2 separate regions of the Homo sapiens genome follow, and region 2 is linked to region 1. Evidence: promoter capture Hi-C in 16 types of primary human blood cells and fetal thymus (Javierre and others, 2016). All regions are on one chromosome and are shown on one strand. The core of a region is centred on a gene start or on the middle of the fragment in contact, and the rest is flanking DNA. Distances in the headings are between cores, read along the strand shown. Region 1 holds the start of NDP (norrin cystine knot growth factor NDP). Region 2 holds the start of KDM6A (lysine demethylase 6A).

Evidence for each region. The method cuts DNA at HindIII sites, captures the fragments that hold promoters and counts their contacts. A CHiCAGO score of 5 or more calls a contact.
Region 2: a contact is called between the fragment with the promoter of KDM6A here and the fragment with the promoter of NDP in region 1, in 4 of 17 cell types (endothelial precursors, naive CD4 T cells, fetal thymus and 1 more). The highest score is 5.9, in endothelial precursors.

The regions. Positions count from the first base shown.
Region 1 is chrX:43,971,337-43,975,347 of GRCh38, forward strand. NDP (norrin cystine knot growth factor NDP) reads right to left here and starts at 2,054. Exons shown (of 3, transcript NM_000266.4): 1 at 1,968-2,054. NDP-AS1 (NDP antisense RNA 1) reads left to right here. Exons shown (of 6, transcript NR_046631.1): 6 at 109-216. The HindIII fragment of the contact is 1,267 bases long and covers 1,752-3,018 here.
Region 2 is chrX:44,870,837-44,874,847 of GRCh38, forward strand. It overlaps KDM6A (lysine demethylase 6A), which reads left to right and starts at 2,352. Exons shown (of 30, transcript NM_001291415.2): 1 at 2,352-2,876; 2 at 3,088-3,151. The coding sequence starts at 2,716. RefSeq lists silencers at 1,542-2,041, 2,292-2,521, 2,862-3,121, 3,162-3,241, 3,252-3,351. The HindIII fragment of the contact is 16,030 bases long and covers 1-4,011 here.

The DNA of each region.
Region 1 (4,011 bases), core at 804-3,303:
GGTGGCTATAATTCCAAGAAACTCACCACATTTTTCAAGGGCCCAGGAAAATAAATGAGTTGGAAATTGTTAAATGTATTGAAAAATGATTTATTTTTCCCTTGACAGTGTCATTGGAACTCGAATTAAGATTGAAAACTCCACAGGCACATTTCCATCTGTGGGTGTCAGCTGCTTGGTACACAGTCGTAAGAAGGCCTCAGCCAGTTCTCCCGTTACCTGAACCAAATGTATTTTAAAATAAATGATGCAAAACATTGCATTTTGTGTTCAAATACTCTCATGTAATGATCTGAATAATAGTCTAAGAAAATTGTTTTGATTCAGCTAAATGCTTTGCTAACCGCAGTTTTTTTAAAAAAAAATTACAATAAAATTTTACAGCAATGGAATCCATAGTGTCTTTTATGGCTTTCTTGACTAATGAATACCCCAAAGTTGTAAATTAACCTATTCAAATATCAGATTTTCATTCAGCGATGCTTATTGGGCTGGTTATCAGAGAAAATCAGAAAAGTTTTGCATAAACTGTGTACCAATTTGCAATGAAAACTGGCAAACAGGACCATAAAGTTTCCTTGAATTAGTAAGACTGATGAGAAGAAAATGAGCAGATATTTGCATCTGGTTTAAACGCTCAGTTGAGAAGCATTGTGCCGTCCCCGCTGTATTTGGTTGACACCCACAGCAACTCCCCATTTCAGTCATCTCTCTGTTTTCAAATGCACCTGGTATTTAATCTTATGTGTTGGGGTAATTTGCCAATGCCAGCTCCTTGTAATTAAAATACACTAATATTAGAAATGAAAAGAGACATGTTTCACAGCAGCCATATCTGTTATTAATGAGTTACAAAGAACTGTACAAGGGACTCCCATCTTGCCAAATAGCTTCCTTTCCCGCACCTGAATCTCAGTAAAGATGGGAGTCTGCCTCTCATGGAGGCTTATCTGGGTTTGTCTATTACAATGAGCCTCAGTTACTGGGCGTTCTGAGTCATTAACATTCTGTACACAATCAAACTTCCCGTCCCCCAAGAAAGAGTTATGCCCAGGCCTCCTACAGCTCAATTGTTCATTTAAAGAGAGAACTTGTATTCCAAAGTTTGAAAGAAACCTCGGAATATCCCGCAGGTAGGAGTCATTCCTACAGGTCCTGGTCTCTGTGCTGGTGGGAGCATCCTTTCCCGGTCACTCCTTGAACATCATGCTGCAGGGACGAGCTGATGACTAAAAATAACCCCCTGCAATAAGTCCAAGGCAAACAGCATGCATTTCCTCGGACTTTTTGCCCAATCAAAATCATACAGTAAATCCATCCTCATCTCCTCCCGGTGCTCCCCAATGCATCTATGGAAGCGAAGACCTGCACGCTGAAAGAAGAGTGCAAGGGAGCAGGATTCCTGCAAAGCGTGACACAGAAAGCTAGAAATAAATGTTGCCTATTGTTTGAAGTCATTCTGAGCACTCCGGCAGAGCCCTGGCAGGAGATCAGCAGCATACATAAGTAGTAATAAAAGTAAACAGTGCGCTTTTAAACTCGCAGTCTTGCCTGCGTTAATAGTGCCCCCATTGTAAGTGGGATGAGGGTGCTGGGGAAGATACTGGGCTCCATGAATCCATGTTGGCAAGTTGCTGCTTCGCAGCCCCCTTTCACGGGGTCAACTATAAGAACCATCACAAAGTTACATCTAACTACGCAGAGAGTTTGAAAAGAAAAATCTCTTTAAGTCAAACCAAAAGATATTTTCAAGCTTTTCTAGGAGGCTCCCTGCTCTGTCACAGACTTCAAAGACCCGTTCATTTAAGAAACACAATGCTAGCATGCTACAGATTAATGCAAATTAAAGTAATGCAAATTTAAGTGGTATTTAAAGGTTGTCTCTTTGTCTGAGAGGAGGATGAAATGCTCGGTTTGGAAAGAAGCGATTTCCTAGGCAAGCCGGCAGCGCTTGTTTTCCTGCTTACCTTAGGGGAACGCAGGGCTCCTTTCTTCTCAGACTTTTCTGAGAGCTAGAAAGAGGTCCTGTTACTTCCAAATGCTTTTGTTCTTCTGTCCCTCTGTCACATGGCTTGCCTTTTATATTTGCAACACACAAAAGTTAGGACTGTTGTTTAAGCGACACAGGGAGAGAGAGAGAGGGAGAGAGAGAGGGAGAGAGAGAGAGGGAGAGAGAGAGAGAGAATGTCAAATGGAAAAGTGCCATTGCAGTCATATATCAATCAGGCGTGCGGCCGCAGCAGCGCACTAGCAAATGGGAATGCCACGGAAATGTGAGGCGCTCGTTATCGGGGACTCAGCCTCTGCCCACCGCTCGGCTCCCTTCCACGGAGCATCTTACGATGGGAACAGCGTAGCAGAACAAGGGCGAGGAAGTTTCTTTCTTTCTTTCTTTTTTAATGGTATTATGGAACTAATAAGAGGCCAAATGAATATTCTGAATTTAATTCTTTTTCAAGCATGTGGCTGCCATAAAGATGTGCCGTCCGCAATAGAGACGTATAGTTTTGGAAATACAAAGGCAGTGTGGCATTCTGTTGAACGATTCGGCAGCTGACTGTGATGAAGTTGAAATTTTAAGTAAGAGAGGGGAAAGATGGGAACCAGAAATTTTTTTCTCAGGCGATGCTGTTAAAGCAAGTGCAAAACGCTGCCCTATTTTATCACGATGTGTGTGGGTGGTGAGAGTTCTTTTTTTCCGGGTTGTTCATCCATTAAATGATTTTTAGCAGCATATACATGATTAAATTCACAATGGCACTTTAATAAGCCCCTTCATCTGCATCATTTAGAATAAAACTTTAGGTCTGATTTAGAAACAATGAGAACGTGTATTCCTTGACTCCTTGAGCTATATGAAGGAGAAACTAATAGATAAAGCTAACCCATTACACAACAACTAGTAGAAAAGTGACAAAGGTAACTATGTGTGTGGGTTAAATACCTGCAGCTGAATCATGCTGTGTTATGAGCTGTGGGACTACAAAGGCAAATATTTCATAATTCTTGCCCTTTGAAAGCTTAAAATTAACACAGAAAACCGTCAGGGATTTTGGAGGAAAATACAAAGAACATTTAATAATTATTTTATGTCAGGTAAATCAGACCCAGAATAATTTGTTTTATTAATACTACTGATGAAGAATTAAACTGAGAATTTAAAATATATATATTTCGTGGAAAAAATAATACATTATAAAACTCAAAAAGAAATTTTTCTTGGGAGCTTCATGTAATTGTTGATGCTGAAACTGTCTTGTTCAACTCTGTATCAAACTATTTGTTATTCATTAATAAATTTACATTCACCTTATTACTTTTCCATGGGACCTTTACTCCAGTCACTGATATTTGCAAGAGGTGTCTTAAAACTTTCAGTTTTATTGCCAGAAATCCCTTTTCTTATGCTCCACTTGGAAAAAAAAATACCCTGTCTACCTTGGACCAGCCAGTCACAAACAGAATCCACCTGCGAAGATCATGGATAAATGACAAATTCAAAGCCTTGAAAAAAAACCTGGCACTTGGCTGATGATGATATTGGCTAAATATCTTAAAAGCAGAAGATCAAAAAGCAAATGGAAATTGGGCCTTAAAACTGGAAATAATCTGAAAGGGGAAATGACTTGTAGCTGAGTAAGAGCCATGGAAACAGTCAGGAATACATTTTCTGGCCTAATTTTGTGGGTCAGATTGGGAGGGGGAATAAACTCTTTGGCCACCAACATTTTCAAATATCAGAACTTGACATCCGTCCACCTTCTCATTTCTCCCAAGAAATAATCTGTGGCTTTCTCAACATATGCTCGCCACTCCACCCTGCCATCTTTCGCCTTCAGGTTGTCAGGGTTGCATGAATTCTGCCCAGTTCCTGGGCAGAATTTTCCAGCATTCTACAATCTGCCCTTCTGAAAGAGCACCACAGAAAGTGTAAAGATTGCAAACACATTGACTGCTTGGCCACAGAAGACAAGATCTCTCCCAGATGGAGTCCTACTGCTTCTTCCAGCC
Region 2 (4,011 bases), core at 1,102-3,601, 900 kb after region 1:
ATTCTCCTGCCTCAGCCTCCCGAGTAGCTGGGACTACAGGCGCCCACTACCACGCCCGGCTAATTTTTTGTATTTTTAGTAGAGACGGGGTTTCACCGTGGTCTCCATCTCCCGACCTCGTGATCCACCTGCCTCGGCCTCCCAAAGTGCTGGGATTACAGGCGTGAGCCAAAGCGCCTGGCTGCCTTTTTTTTTTTTTTTTTTTTTGAGACAGAGCCTCACTCTGTCCCCAGGTTGGAGTGCAGAGGTGCAATCATGGCTCACTGCAACCTCCACCTCCCGGGTTCAAGCGATTCTTCTGCCTCAGTCTCCCGAGTAGCTGGGACTACAGGCGAGCGCCACATGCTCGACTAATTTTGTTTTTTGTATTTTTAGTAGAGGTGGGGTTTCACCACATTGGCCAGGCTGCTCTCCAACTCCTGACCTCGTGATCCGCCCGCCTCGGCCTCCCTTTGCAGGCGTGAGCCACAGAGCCCGGCCGGGATTGAGTAGCCTTATAATCCTTGAAAAGGACCTGAGTCAGGAACTGCTAACTTCAGGGAGATAGTCAAATACCAGCAAAATGTCTATCTGTGCTTGTGCAAGTGTGTGTGTATGTGTGTGTGTGTGTGTGTGTGTATGAGAGAGTGTGCGAGCGAGTTACTGGGGTCAAAATTTCCTTGGCTTTAAATGTCACCATTTGTGACAAAGTTAACAATGTATTAATTTAGCCGTAGAAAAGATTTGGCCCTTTGTACACACTCATTCAAGCAAAATGGAGTATCATAAAGGGAAAGGTGTTTCAGAGGAAGTAATTAAACATGAACTATAATCTATACAAAACTACAGTTTGTTCGTCTAGTTACTAGTCTCAGGGGAACAATTTAAAACTGTGTGCAAAATCAGTTGGGATTCCCATAGCTTCCCGCTGAATACTGGTAGGAATTACTGGGTCAGCACTGAATTGTCTTCGTCATATTTTGAAATCCAAGTTTAAATATATAATTTTTATTGGTTACAGGTGGAAAACCTATTGAAAATATAAAAAACTCCGTTTATAAACAGAATCTTGTCCTTATATGTCTATCAATTTTTTCCTATCCCTGTTATAAGACATACAGCTTAGTAAATAAATTTGCCTTTTGAGAAGAGTAGTCGAAAGGCCTATTTTTTTTTCACCTATAGTAAAGATTAAAAGTCAGACTAAAGCCTTTCCCCTGCACCTGAGAGACAGAACAACAAAATGTTACTGTTGTCTAGGGGTTACAAACCTGCAGGTTTTGGGGGATAGAAAGGATTTCTTGGGCCACCAGCTGTGATGATTTAATTATGTCTTCTCTCAGGTCTGTCCACAAGCAGCCCCTACTTTTGTAAGAAGGCTCCACTGAAATCATGGCAATAGAACCCAACATTCTGCAGATCCCGCTTCACAATTTCTCATTGCTTTTTCTTGTAAGACTGTAATGAACTACTGATAAGACACAGGGTAAACACAGCACGAAAATCTGGCCCCAAAGTGCCGCCAACAGACAGACCTTTGGCGGTGGGGAGCCATGGTCGGCAAGCCAGGCCCCGCGGGCGACTCTTCATTCCCTCCGGCCTGGGGCGTATGGGCGGGGGTCAGGGGAGCCCTTCCCCCTTCACTTTCGGCGCGGGTGAGGTGATCGGGGCTGCCAGCGCAGGTCTGGCCTAGGGCGGCACCCGGACCGCGGGGCACGGGACCGGCAGCCGCTCCCCGAGCGCCCTCCTCGCGGAGGCCATTATTTCCAGCAGTGCCAAAAGTCTGAGCCTTCTTCGGAGGGCAGAGGTCGAGGGCCGTGCGCCGCCTCCCGGCTACGCGACCTGTACCAGGCCCTGTGGGGTCCCGGGACCCCTGGAGCGCGCGCGGGACGGCCGGAGCCGCGGTCTGGGCACATCCCAGAGCTCGCGGGCAGGCAAATGCCGTCCTTGGCGTCTTCGCCCGCCGCTCGCGCCCGCCGCGGGCGGTGCCGGACCTCGCCCTTCCCCACCACTCCCCTCCCCCTCCAGAGCCCGCCGCGGTTCCCGAGGTGACACGGCCCGGACCCTCCATTCTCTGCCCCAGTGTATTTAACCAGCACAACCTAACAGGAAGCTCCCTCTCGGTGACAACCCTTCCCCCGACAGACGCGCCCAGCAGCCAACCACCGGCTAGAATTGGCCTGCGTCCCGCTCCCATCTCGGTGGCGGCCTCGGTGGGCGGGGCTCGGGCAGCTAGCAAGTTAAGTGGAGCCACGGCTGACGTGAGTCAACAAAGGTCACGTGAGGCGTGCGGGCCGCGCCGATTGGTGGCGCCAGCCGGGCGGGGAGGGGGGGTCACGGCGGCGGCGTGGGGTTCGCTGTGTGACACAATTACAACAACTTTGTGCTGGTGCCGGGGAAGTTTGTGTCTCCAACGAATCCCCTCAGTGCTCCCCAGCCCCGCGCGCTCCGGCCGTTCCCGCCGTCCCCGCCTGTGGCTGCCCCCTGCCCAACCCCGCGATGTGACCCTACAGCCGAAAGCCGCCGCTGCCGACCCGGGGGCTCCGCAGCCCCTGCCGCCGCCGCCGCCGCCTTCACCGCCGCCGCGTTGGGATTTTTCGTCGCCGCCGCCCGCGGCGGAGGAGGAGGCGGCGATAAAGTTGGTGTGCTGGTCCCGCGCGCAGATTGGGGGCGTCACTGCGGGCCCCGGTCCGAGGGGGGGTGTCGGCGTTGGAGTTGTGAATTCGCTGCGTTTCCATGAAATCCTGCGGAGTGTCGCTCGCTACCGCCGCCGCTGCCGCCGCCGCTTTCGGTGATGAGGAAAAGAAAATGGCGGCGGGAAAAGCGAGCGGCGAGAGCGAGGAGGCGTCCCCCAGCCTGACAGCCGAGGAGAGGGAGGCGCTCGGCGGACTGGACAGGTACGGGCCGCCGTCACTCGCCCGGTCGGCTCCGGACGGGCAGTAGCCGCTCTCCCGGGAGGACCGAGCGCGGCTTGTCTCTGGCGGCGGCGGGGCGGGCACCTCGGTTTGGCGCTCTTCGCGCCGCCTCCGCTGGGGCCTCGGGCTCGGGCAGGGACGGGTCGGTGGCGTTCCCTGAGCGTTAACGAGTAAACTGTGTCTGTCTCCACAGCCGCCTCTTTGGGTTCGTGAGATTTCATGAAGATGGCGCCAGGACGAAGGCCCTACTGGGCAAGGTAAGGCAGCTGCGAGTCGGAGCGCGGACACCGTCTCCCTGGCCGGCGCCGCGCTCGCCCCGGGCCCCGCGGCCGGGTCTGTGCTCATTGTGGCCACGGACGATGGTCGAGGGGCTTCCGGAAACTATTTCCTGCCTCTGCTCTCCCCCCACCCCCGGGTACCCTGCTTGCTCCCTTGCGAAATCGCTCTTTTCCTCTTGTAGCTGGAGGAACAGAGACGGGATCGCTTTGGGGCCGGGCTCAACTGGGTCGACACAACTGCCTGCTATTTTACAGCTTTTTGAGGGTAGGCCGATGATCTTCGAGGTGCCTGTTTAGGGTCAAGGGATCGTGAGTGTGTTCAGATTTTCCCAAATTTCGGACTTAACTTGCCTCTACGGGTTTAAAAAAATTCTTTTCCTTCAAGCAGGCTGTTCGTGATGCCTACTGCTAACCAAATGTTTTAGGCTTTCTTGTGTCCCCGCTCCCAGAAGGGGGAAGTTTCACGGAGTTTAGGTCGGTGAAGAGTTTGCATTGGGCTGTTGACATGTATCTCGATTGCAGTGTGTGTTACCTGAAGTTAGGTGACTTGTTTACTTTTTGGGTCTTTTTGGCATAGAAATACCGTAGTTATTTGTAAACGTGTTCTCTTCCTGGAGCCTCATTTCCTGTGTGTCTGACAGGGGAGGCTGGGGAGGATTCGGGGTGTAGTCTTTTTTTATTTGTGTGGAAAGTTGTTGGCACTGTCATTTAGTTAAGTAATGGCTGCTCCTATCGGCCCAAGATGGCGGGACAGGGTGGGAGGAGAAAGTGAAGGGGGGGGTTAGGGGGAGGGTGTAGAGGTAAACATGGAAATAAATAGTAGCCGTGAATAAGCCTTT